2 separate regions of the Homo sapiens genome follow, and region 1 is linked to region 2. Evidence: promoter capture Hi-C in human tissues and cell types (Jung and others, 2019). All regions are on one chromosome and are shown on one strand. Each heading gives the region's core, a stretch centred on a gene start or on the middle of the fragment in contact. The rest is flanking DNA. Distances are from core to core; before and after follow the strand shown.

The links. Contacts are between HindIII fragments. The study calls those that stand out against the background at their distance.
Region 1: a contact is called between a fragment that was not itself captured here and the fragment with the promoter of GP9 in region 2, in 2 of the 25 tissues and cell types used here (H1 embryonic stem cells and spleen).

What each region holds. Positions count from the first base shown.
Region 1 is chr3:128,915,274-128,921,182 of GRCh38, reverse strand. CFAP92 (cilia and flagella associated protein 92 (putative)) reads left to right here. Exons shown (of 16, transcript NM_001394090.1): 13 at 4,912-5,076; 14 at 5,620-5,826; 15 at 5,908-5,909. Among named protein-coding and RNA genes, the nearest start is that of ACAD9, 39 kb to the right of the region's middle. The HindIII fragment of the contact is 3,559 bases long and covers 1,862-5,420 here.
Region 2 is chr3:129,056,073-129,062,028 of GRCh38, reverse strand. GP9 (glycoprotein IX platelet) reads right to left here and starts at 1,250. Exons shown (of 3, transcript NM_000174.5): 1 at 1,179-1,250; 2 at 410-535; 3 at 1-301. The coding sequence starts at 289. The HindIII fragment of the contact is 8,053 bases long and covers 1-3,545 here.

The DNA.
Region 1 (5,909 bases), core at 2,392-4,891, 140 kb after region 2:
AGACCCAACTCCAGGCTGTGGGGACTATGAAGTCCGGCAGAGTCAAACAGATGAGACAAGAGTGCATAAAGTGGGACCAGGGGGCCAACACTAGTATGGAGGCTGTGAAGGCCCCGAGCTCTGGAAGCCCACACTATTTATTGGTGATCAAAGAAGCAGGTGGTGAGGATGTGGGGGTTGAAAGAAAGCAGTGTATCAAGTGCATGATCTACAGCTGTGATGGTTTAGAATTTTCTTTGAAGCATATGGAACATGTTCTGCTACTTGAGATAATGGGAAACGTATTCTTCTAGTTTAAGACACAATCGATCTATGAGCCTTGGAGTGCTAGAAGCAAGGAGCCAACAAGTCGAGACACATTCCAGAGGCCACGAGGGGTTTTATGCGCTGTTCCCTGGATTCCGTCCAAGCCACGCCCTTGTGGCTTGTGCCCTGGGCTTAGATTGTAGTGCGGCAGGGCAGCCTTCCACCCTTTGGAACAGAGCTTGGTGTTCCAAAGGCCACAAGGGGTTTTAGACCCTGGACGCCGGACATGTTCCAAGACTCTTTTACGTTACGTCAGACATGCAAGCCCTGCCTCAGCCTTTTTCCCAACACTCAGCTTTTCCCCAACACTGTGTCCAAGCTGCAATTAAACCCATCCACTGGATTGTAACTTTAATGATGATTTCTTCAATTCTATGATTTCCATTTATTTTTTCTATAGGTTCCAGGTGTCTGGTGAAATTCTCATTTTCATTTATTTTGATTAATCATAATTATTTTAATTTTTTTTTCTTGAGATGGAGTCTTGCTCTGTGGCCCAGGCTAGAGTGCAGTAGCACTATCTTGGCTCACTGCAAACTCCGCCTCCTGGGTTCAAGCAATTCTCCCTGCCTCAGCCTTCTGAATAGCTGAGATTACAGGCACCTACTGCCACACCCAGCTAATTTTTGTATATTAGTAGAAACAGGGTTTCACCATGTTGGTTAGGCTGGTCTCTAACTCCTCACCTCAGGTGATTCACCCACCTCAGCCTCCCAAAGTGCTGTGATTACAGGCATGAGCCACCATGTCCAGACTAGTTTTAATGTTCTTGTCTGATACTTCCAATATCTGGATTACCTGGGGTCTGTTTCTATTGTCTTTTTTCTTGGTTTCCATCTTTTCATCCTGTTACCTGGCATGTCTGTTATTTTTTGTTAAATGGTAAAGAGGGTATTGAAAACTATAGAGACTCTTGATGTCTTATTCCAGAGATGATAAAGCAGGAGACAGAGGACAGATAAATCTCCTTAATCAGAGTCAGGCTTGCCCTTACTCCTAAAGCAGATTTTCTGAATTCTAAACTGGAGGCCTAGAGGTACCAGGGCCCTTCCTCCTTGGCACAATTTCCAATTTTGAAATCCAATTTTGTTTCTCTAGCAATGCAGCATTTTCCAAAATACCTCCTTAGCTTCTAAACTTCTTAAGCTTCTTTTTCTGCTTATGTTCTTATTTCTGCCTTATCCATGTGCAAATTAGGAGTCAGTAAATCCCTTGAGAGAAAACTGCAAAAAGAAAATGGAACCACCATTATTTCCCTTTTCTCCAGATTCTTGGACTCTCAAATCCTGGTTGCCTTGGTTGTTCTCCAGTGATGTTAGATAGATGTCTATTTCTTCTTGTAATCCTGTCAGTTGTTTCTTAATATATTTTGAGACTATATTGCTAGGTGCATATATATTTACAAGTTATCCCTTTTTGTTGTCCTCAATATACAATATCCTTTTGCCCCTTTTGATAGATTTTTAACTTGAATTGTTTCAGCAGATATTAAGAATGCCACACAGCTTTTTTGTCTTTGTTTTCTCATGCCTTTTTGCCTAGTGTATATGCTGTCTCCCTTTAGTTGTCAAACCTGTATCTTTGTGTTGAAAGTTTTGTAGATAGCATATTGTTAGCTTGAAAAAAAAATCCAGGCTGGGTGCAGTGGCTCACGCCTGTAATCCCAACACTTTGGGAAGCTGAAGTGGGTGGATCGCTTGAAGTCTGGCGTTCGAGACCAGCCTGAACATGGTGAAACCCTGTCTCTACTAAAAATACAAAATTAGCCAGGCGTGGTGGCACACGCCTGTAATCCCAGCTACTTGGGAGGCTGAGGCAGGAGAATCACTTCATCTCGGGAGGCGGAGGTTGTAGTAAGCCAAGATCGCGCCATTCCACTCCAACCTGGGCAACAAGAGCAAAACTCTGTCTCAAAAAAAAAAAAAAAAAAAAAAAATCCAATCTGAGATTCTTTAATTGGCAAGCTTAACATTAATTACTGTTAGGTTAGGCATTTTTGCCACCTAATCTACTTTTAAACCCTCCGTTCCTGTGTTCCTTGGATAGATCAAGTTTTCTTCTGTGGACTTAAGTTATACATTCTATCTTTCTTTTTAAGGTGGTTATCCTGAAGACCATATGGTTAGGCATTCCTACTGAACATTAAACTCATAAAACTATATTCTCTTTATAAGACAAATTGTACATTTACATCCCTTTTATCTCATCTCCTACCCACACTCCACCATCCCTTTTATAGTCTCTAGAATTTCAATTCCAGGCTCTGAAATTTTATTTTCCTAGTCCTTTTAAGACAACTTTACTAGGCTATCGGACATTACTTGCTAACCTTGAATCCTCCTGCATGTTCCTCCTCCATTTTGAATTTCTCCAAAGAGTTTTGTGACTTTTGTTTTGTTTTTTTGAGACGGAGTCTGGCTCTGTCACCCAGGCTGGAGTAGAGTGGCATGATCTCGGCTCAATGCAACCTCTGCCTCCTGGATTCAAGCGATTCTCCTGCCTCAGCTTCCCAAGTGGCTGGGACTACAGGCGTGTGCCACCATGCCCAGCTAATTTTTGTATTTTTTAGTATGGAAAGGGTTTCACTGTATGTTGGCCAAGCTGGTCTTGAACTTCTGACCTCAGATGATCTGCCTGCCTAGGCTTCCCAAAGTACTGGGATTACAGGCATGAGCCACCACATCTGGCCCCAAGAGTTTTTAAAGGAGGGTTTTATGTAAAACCTAAGGCCTTTAAACCTAAGCCCTCACAATTAGTTTGCTTGGATATGAAATTGTAGGTTGAAGTTAACTTACCTTGTTGCTGTTGTGGATCTGATCACAAGTGATAGTTTTTCTTTACAGGTGGCCTGCTCTTTTCCTCTAGAAGCTTTGAGAGTTTATCTTTGTATTTGTTTGCTTAAATCCCACTAATAATAGTGTACCCAGGCTTGGAAGTTTTGTCTTTTCTGACATTCATTATTGCTTCAAATTTTCTTGTTCTCACTTTTCCCCTCCTTTTGGGATTTCTGTTATTTGGATGTTATTTCCATCCTCTATACTCAGTTTCTAATTTTATCTTTTTTATACAGGACTGCTTTCTGAAAGCATATCTCAAGTGGATATTCCAGTTCATTCATTCGTTCTACAACAGTATCACTTCTGCAATATATCTCATTCTCTTGTCTTCTATTTCAACTATTTTCATACTCAATACTTTTTCTTTTAGTTTTACTTCTGCTTCATATTGCTATCTTCACTCTTATTTTAAAACAATTTCTTATGTTAAATTCTTAGCCCATCTTTTCCAATAATTTAGCTTCAGTTGTTCAGTCTGTGGCCTTTTTTAAATACTGTATTTACTTCTCCAGCATCTAGTTACTTTTGCTCTGAGTCCAAATTCTCCTGCAGGTGTCACCCCTCAGCAGAGAATCTCAGGCACCCAGAAGAACTACGGAACAGTTTGCTTTCCCTGTAATAAGCATTAGGTCAGAATTTCAACTTCAAATTGTAAGAAAGGAGTAGCATGGAAAGAAGAATCTGTCCCCCTAGGTTGTAATTCACGAATTCTAGGATTTGGAAGGAGCAGGGGACTTCTAGGAATGGCTAACTGAGAAACTCAGATCAACTCCCCCACTAAGGACAACTAGAAAAACTGGACACATCAAGAAATATTGATTGAAGTTCCATGTGGGCCATGACAGGATCCTTGCTCTATGTGGCATCCCTAGTATAATCTTCTCGCAGGTGCTCCAAAGTCTGAGGACCTAGACTTGCCTTTACCTTGCATCCCTTGTTGCCTGGACAGTCTGTTCTTTCATGTGTGTGAATCACAAATTTTGTCCTCCCCTGATTATTTTAAATTCTTGTGCATTAATTCCTCAAAGATTCCAAAGTCAAGCCACTGTAGTTGAGCTAAGGTCACCATCTTGTGCTAAAAAATTTTTTAAAGGTAAAAGATGGTATTTTGCTGAAGGTTACTGTGAAATATGCATATGAAACACTGCACAGTGCCCAACAATTTAGAGTGGTAACTTTCCCAGTTCTCCCTTGTTTTGGGTCCCAGCCACCTTTCCCCCCAGCCTTCTGTGTTGTCTTTTATCTCCTTCCACATTTCTATTTTCATTCACAAAGGAAGCCAACAGACCATCTTATTTCTCTCTGTTCAGGGAAGAGTTCCCATTTCCTTACTGGGCCTGCTGGACAGAATGAGGGTCATAATCCTTATGCACACTTGACAGTTAACCATGGTCAAGGATGGCAGTCCTTGCTGCTTTAGGTTGTAATATCCCCTGTCCACACTCTCCTACTTCTGACCATGTGAGACACAAATTCTGTCTTTATCACAAGGTGGTTGGGAGATGAGTGGCCAGATGATGTGTGTTCCAGTTACAGTGACCTTAGGGGTCTCAATTTTTTGGTCCTCTTAAATTCCATTTTGGATAGTGAGAGGTTGGACTAGTTGGCCCTTTGCCCTGGTTCTATGATGAAATAACAGCACCAGTATTGAAGAATCAATCAATACCTGCACCACAGCTAAGTCCCAGAGATCATCTCACTGCATATGAGCTGGCATGGGGGGTGAGGATGACCTGGTGTGGGTAGTGACTGGTGTCTCTTTCTTCAGAAAAATATCACAGAAGCCTACCAGGTCAGCAAGAAGCCTCCGAAGTCCGTGGCGAAGGTGATTAAAATTTCAGCCCCTGCCAACAAGGCCGTCTACAACTATAGTACCCAGACCATGAATTCTACAGAGCTTGCCAAGAAGGAGCTGTATCAAGAGATAGCCAAGGTGAGAGACCCAGACAGGATGATGGCAGTTGGCAAATCCCATGAGTTCTTTATTCTGACCATGCCTGCCTGGAGGTCAGTGGGGGATCTCAACTATACAGATGAAAGCCAATCAGCTAGGGGAAGTAGACAAGGCTCAGATGTTGAGAGGTGTTCTGTTCCACACTAAATGTGAATCCTCCACACCTGAGGGTAAGCCCAAGATCCTCAATGTAAGCTCAGATGTACATAAAGGAGAACAACTGTAGCATCCTTACCTCTGGGGAACACTTTATGATTGCTGCTTATCAAGGCAGCTACCAACAGAAGGGAAAGCCATGGTTTAGGCTTCCAGCACATATTAACTTTAGGAAACGGCTTCTCCCATCAAAGGGGACAATAATATGTCCCTTACAGGGCTACTGCACAGTCATTTCCTCTCAATGCACTATTTACATTGTCAGGAACTATGATTATGCCCCCAGCTGTTTCTGATTCCTACTTGGAAATAAATCCAAGATTGCTATTAGCCCTTCCACCCCAACCTGTCTGCCCCCATTTCTAGGAGCCAAGAAAGAGATTCACGTACTCACAGGATTACCTCTCAGCCATGGTGGAGCCCCTGGACTTGAAGGAAGAGGAGAAGAAAGCCCAGAAGAAATCCCGCCAGGCCTGGCTCACAGCCAGGGGATTCCAAGTGACAGGTCTTCAGAGCGACACCGAAAGCAGCTTTCAGGATCTCAAGCTGCCACCCATCAAAGAGCTGAATGAGGTCCACAGGGAAGAGCAGGGTCTCAGGTGGGGTGTCCATAGGGACCTTTCTCCTCCTGATTTACTTACTCCCCCAATTTAGGA
Region 2 (5,956 bases), core at 1-2,500:
GCAGATAGGTGAGGCTGCAGTCACAGTGCCAGGGGTTCTGCGTCACATCGAGGGTCTGCAGCTGGGGCAGGTGGTCAAAGGCTCCCGGGGGCACGGACTGAAGGCTGTTGTTGGCCAGCAGAAGGTGGCGGGTGCGGGCCGGCAGGGCAGGCAGGGCCGTGAGTCCGTGGCCCCTGCAGTCCACCCACAGCCCCATGGTTTCCAGGGCGCGGCAGGTACATGGGCTGGGGCAGTCCTTGGTGGCCTCTGCTGTGGCCCAGAGCAGGAACAGGGCTCCCCAGGCAGGCATGGGACAGGCTGGCTGCAGAGAGAGGGGCTGTGAGGGAGGGCCTGGCAGCCTGGACCGATCCTCAGGGACGGCAAGCACTGGGGATGTAGCGGAGCCTGACATGGGACGGGGTGCACTCACCTCCCTTCTCGGGTCTCAGCCTTCTCCTCTGGGAAACCAGCTGGTGACTAGGGAAGGTGGAGTGTGCCCAGCCCAGGCCTGGCTAACTGTCTCTGGACACCGTAGAAGGCCGGGCGGTGAGGGCGGCTGTGGATTGGGTAAGTTTGTTTTTGGGAAGGGGAAGGGACTTCCTGGCCCTTAGCAGAGACCCCATCCCCTGCTTGGGGATGAGAGGAGCAGATGGCTGCTAAATGAGTCCCAGCCCAGGACCACAGTCCCCAGAGACTAGGAAAGAGCCTTGGAGGGCCCTGCAGGCTGCGCCCAGCACCCCCCACCAGCTAAGTGAGCTGTTACCTGATTCCCAGATGCAGAAGACAGCAGGACAGGGACACTGGCTGGAGCAGGGAGGGGAACTCAGTGGGACCCCATCTGGAAAACCACTCATCTGGGCTAACACTGACTTGGGGAAACTGAGGCCCAGAGAGGGAAAGCAATGTGCCCAGGGCCACCGGTGTGGTGTCAGAGGCCAGACTCACACTCGGGTCTCGGCAACCGTGGCCCTCTGTTTGGTTCTTCCCCACAGGCGTTTCCCCTCCACCAGCAGAGCTCCCCCTACCCACAGCAGGTTTCCAGTGAATAAGTGTCAAATCAACTCACTCATCTTGACTCAGCCAAGGAGATGGTGTCTCAGAGGGAATGTCCCACCCAACCCTGTCTTGTTAAAGGGACAGGAACTGACCTCCTCTCTCCCTGTGGGAGGCCATGCTGGGTAATACGGAGGGCCACTTACCTGTGAAGCCTTTGGTCAGGTGCTCCTGTCTGGCCTGAAAGGTCCTGGCTGAGGCCTGGGTGGCAACTCTATGGGATACAGCTGAGGTGGCCGCTGCGGGAGCGGGCGGAAGGAAGTGATGAAAATAGCCTGGCTTATCCCCCCAGTGCAGCCTTGGGGCCTATTTCCAGAGGCAGGAGGCCCTCAGGGGCCCGCGCCTTGGGCACAGAACCACATCTCAACCCCGGTTTATAGAAGGGGGTCCCACTGTGCCGCCAGTGCCTTGATGGGCTTTGGAATCAGGTCTGTGGAGGACTGAGGGTGGCCCCTCACCTGCTCCCAGAAGGTGGGAACTAGGAGACCCCTGAGAAACGTGGCTCTGCTGGTTGTTCCTCCGAATCTCAGTTTTCCTCATCTGTAAAGTGGGAGCAGTGACCGGTCCTGCCTGCCTCACAGAGGTGTGGGCTGGGCAGCTCCCACTGGCTGAGAACACCATGGTGGGGAGAGTGACTTCATTTTTAACTCTCCTCCCTCCTCCTGTATACTCAAGGACGGAGTCTCTTCTTGGTGCCATGGTGTTTTTAGCTCCTGCCTAGTGCTTCTCCATGCCTCTTTCTAACAAACAGCTGTAGGCCTGGGAAGCAGAGCCTCTACCAAGTGTGAATCTCTAGCTAGAATTTTGGCCTATGGTTTTAACATTTGCAGTACATTTTCTTCTAGAGCACATTCTACTTAGGGGAGGGACACCATTTTCCATTTATGTTAGTGACATAAAGCTTCCTTTAAAAGATAAATATATTTTGGGATGGAGAATTGCTTGAACCCAGGAGGCAGAGGTGGCAGTGAGCCGAGACCGTGCCATTGCACTCCAGCCTGGGTGACAGAGCGAGACTCCGTCTTAAAAAATAAATAAAACAGGGTAAAAACACAGAAGTTACAGAAGCCTGGCAGGAAAAGCCAAAGACAGAAGGCTGACGGAGGCTTTAAACGCACTTCGTTGACATTCAGGACCCTCGGGAATATTCCTCGGCCCTACGGGGGTGGGGGTGTGCTTGTTCTTATTTTGGTCTCACATCCTTCTCAGGCCAGCCTTCCTCCTCCTGCATGGCCAAGCAGGGTGAGTCCTTCCTTGGGAGGCCGCCTGTTCTCTCCCCGCCTCCTGGTTCTGGATTTGGGTAGGGCAGGATTTGGGTGTTCACCCTCCTAGGAGGCCCTGAGAGGCTGCCAGGCCCCAGCTCTGCTTCCTCCACCCACTGATGCTGGGCTCAGAGAAGGGTGGGGAAGGTGCTGTTCCCCCACTGATGTCACACCTGCTCGGGGGCCTGGTTGCTGCTGGGGGTCCCCTGGTATGTGCTCAGTGGGGACTCTGACCGGAGCCTGGACCATGGAGAGGAGCCTCAGCCTGTCTGGCCCTTCCCTCCCTCCCCATGGAGCCTTGGCATGTTCCACCTCCTCTGCCCTGCACACATTCACCAGTGAGCCCCACGCAGGTGGGTAAGGGGTTCTGGAGTGAGTGGGGGTGCTGGAGCTGCCAGGCCAGGTGTTGTGACCAGATCTGGTGGGGCCTGTGCCCTCCTTCCTCTTGAGCCTCTGAGATTTCCTTATTTTCAGCATGTACAACTTAAAACAAAAAACTAGATCAACATAGATGGGTTTTGTGAATTTAAAAAACTACATAAATAACAAATAAATGATTTTTGTTGTGGGAAATTAGAATGTTCAGATGAACTGGAAGAAGAAAATAAAAATTTCCCTCCATCCCAACATCAGGCAAGGCTTTTTCCCCATGTGTATTTACCCATATGGGTAAATACATACCCATCTGCCCAAGAGGCACAGGATAATGCAGGAAGTGGATCTGTAAACAGCCTGGGTGAGCCTGCAAGTGGATTCTCCCAGAGCCTCCAGAGAGGAATGCAGCCCTGCCAGCAGCTTGATTTCCACCTACAAGTGATGCAGGGCAGGTGAGCCCCCAAATCAGGGCTTTGCCCCTGAGGGCTCTTGGCTTTGGCCAGGAAAGAAGTCAAAGAGCCAGTGGTGAAGAAAGCCGCTTTATTGAAGCAGCAGTGCATAGCAGAGGTGCTGCTCTCTGGGAGCAGGGCTACCCCACAGGCAGTGTGCCCAGAGCAGTAGTGTGTGGGCTTTTGGCAACTGCACTTACAGCCACTATTCATTACATGCAAATTCAGGGGCAGGTTATTTCAAACTTTCTAGAAAAGGGGTGGTGAGTTTCCAGAACCCTGTAACTTTCAGGTTGTTGCCATGGCGTGCTGCCATGGCATTTGTAAACTACCATGGTGCCAGGGGGAGTGTCTATGTTAGTGAGCAGTGAGGGCAACTAGCGGTTGCTTTCGTTCCCATCTGCTGGTTTCTGGTGTCTGCCAGCTTCTTCACTACACCTTGTTTCAACCAGATCCTGCTGCCATCAGCAGGCTGGGGACCGGGGGTCCTGACAGGTGCTCAGAAAACAGGTCCTGCTGATCTACCTCAGGAGGGCTGGAATAAGAGAACCCACAGGAGCTGTGTGATGAAGAATGAGAAAATAAATGTGTGCTGCATTAAGCCTCTTGTGACAGCAGCAATAGGAACCAAGGCGAAGGCCAAGCCCCACTCTTGTGCTGTGAGTTGTCCCCTCTCCATCCTTCCAGGACATTGCCCCATCAGGTGCCCCTTCCTCTGCATGATCAATTTCTCCTTCACTGGGTCATTCCATCAGGTTAGGAGCAGCCAGACCAGGCGCGGTGGCTCACGCCTGCAATCCCAGCACTTTGGGAGGCTGAGGCAGGCAGATCACTTTAGGTCTGCCTAAAGTGGGTTTCGAGACCAGCCTGACCAACATGGAGAAACACCATCTCTACTAAAAATACAAAATTAGCTGGGCGTGGTGGTGTATGCCTGTAATCCCAGCTACTTGGGAGGCTGAGGCAAGAGAATCACTTGAACCCAGGAAGCGGAGGCTGTGGTGAGCTGAGATCGCGCCATTGCACTCCAGGCTGAGCAACAAGAGCAAAACTCCGTCTCAAAAAAAAAAAAAAAAAAAAGAAGCAACCTATAATCCTGCCCTTTTGAAAAATCCTTCCTTAATTCCACCTCTTTCTCCAATTACCATCTGATTTTTCTGCTTCTCTCTTCCATAAAACTCCTCTGAAGAGTCACTTCTACTTGCTGTCCAACCCATCAGTAATTCCTGTCATTTCAGTCACCAGGATCTATTCAGAACTTAACCACTTCTCCCTGTGCTGCTACTGCTCTGGTCTTCGTTCGCCTTCTTGGCTTCCCATCGCAAATAAAAGAAAACCCGTGCCCCTGTGGTCAGGAAGCTACAGGCCCCCCTGTAGCTTGGCCCCTGCCTATTTCTTGACCCCATCACCCACTGTCTACTTTGCTCATCAATGTCCAGCCACACCAATTTTCTTCCTGTTGCTCAAACACTCCAGCACTTTCCTGCCTCAGGGCCTTTGCACTTGCTGTTCCCTCTGCCTGGAGTGCCCTTCCCCCAGAGCCCCACATGGCTTCCTCCTGATCATCATTCTCATCTCAATTCAGATGACCCCTCCTCAAAGGCCTCCCTTGCCAAGGCACAGCTCCATCCTTCTGTACCATAATATTCCATTTCATATCTTCCTTAGCATTGATCAGGATCTGAAATGATCTTATTTTTACATTTTTATGTGTTTATTAAATGTCTCCTCCCATTGATGTGAAACTCAAGAGGGCAGAGACTCTGTCCCATTAACTCTTCCCTCCCCAGCACCTCTGCCTGGCCCATGGGCATTATCTAATACATACTTGTCAGCCTTGCTGGCTGTCTCTTCTCTAGTGCTGGCCTTATCTGTGTCTTGCCAGGACTGCTGTCTCCTTGATGCTGGCCTCTGCCTCTACTATACAGGTTTAATCTCACTACACTCCTGCTCCATGTCTTTCATGGCTCCCTGCTGTCTTCAGGACACCCTCTGCCACCCTGTCCAGCCTCACCTCTCATCTCTTCCTGATCTGAAGCTTCGTGGTAGGCTAGCCATGTCCCTCACTCCCCACCCACATGCCAACTTCTGTCTGTGCTTTTGCCTCTGCACTGCCCTCTTTCTGGAGCCCTGTGGAATTTTGCCTGGCATGCTGCATCCTTTAAGATTCACCGGGGGCATAACTTCTTACGGGAAGCCCTCCTCGACGCACTCACCCAGCCGTTTGCTTATCTGTTTGCAAATGGGCCCAGCAGCTCCTTGGAGAACCTCAGCACCCACTAGGGAAGTGTTCGCAGATCTTGTGACTAAAAGTTGGTTGAGCCTCTCAGGCAATTTCAGGTGATACATGCCTATGACACAAATAACGAGAAACATGAGGGAGACAGCCACTCCTTTCTTGTCCCCTGAGCTGAAGGAAACAGCCTCTGTTTGGTAATCGTATTATGAGGCAAACTGCTTAGGTAAACTTACTTTGGAGGCTGGGATCTTTCAATATCCCCCAAGACAATTTTTCCTTCTCATGGGAAGCAGAGGGGATTAAGAGGCAGTGATTATTAGGTAGCATTTTTAGCCTGTGTGCAACCAACAGGAAATGGGTAACCCTGTCTGCCACTGTTGGACCCCCTTGGAACAGAGCCTCTGCTTGCTGGATCTTTGCAGATGCAGGTCTCCGTCACCCCGGCTGTTCTGAGCCAGCCTGTGGAGCAGCCTGCCTTGCTCTGAAACCTGGTTTTGCTACTTACTTGCTCTGTGACCTTGGGCAATAGTCTTAGCCTATCTCTGCCTCAGTTTCCTCATCTGCAGAATGGGGAAAATCAAAGACCCCACCTCCCAGAC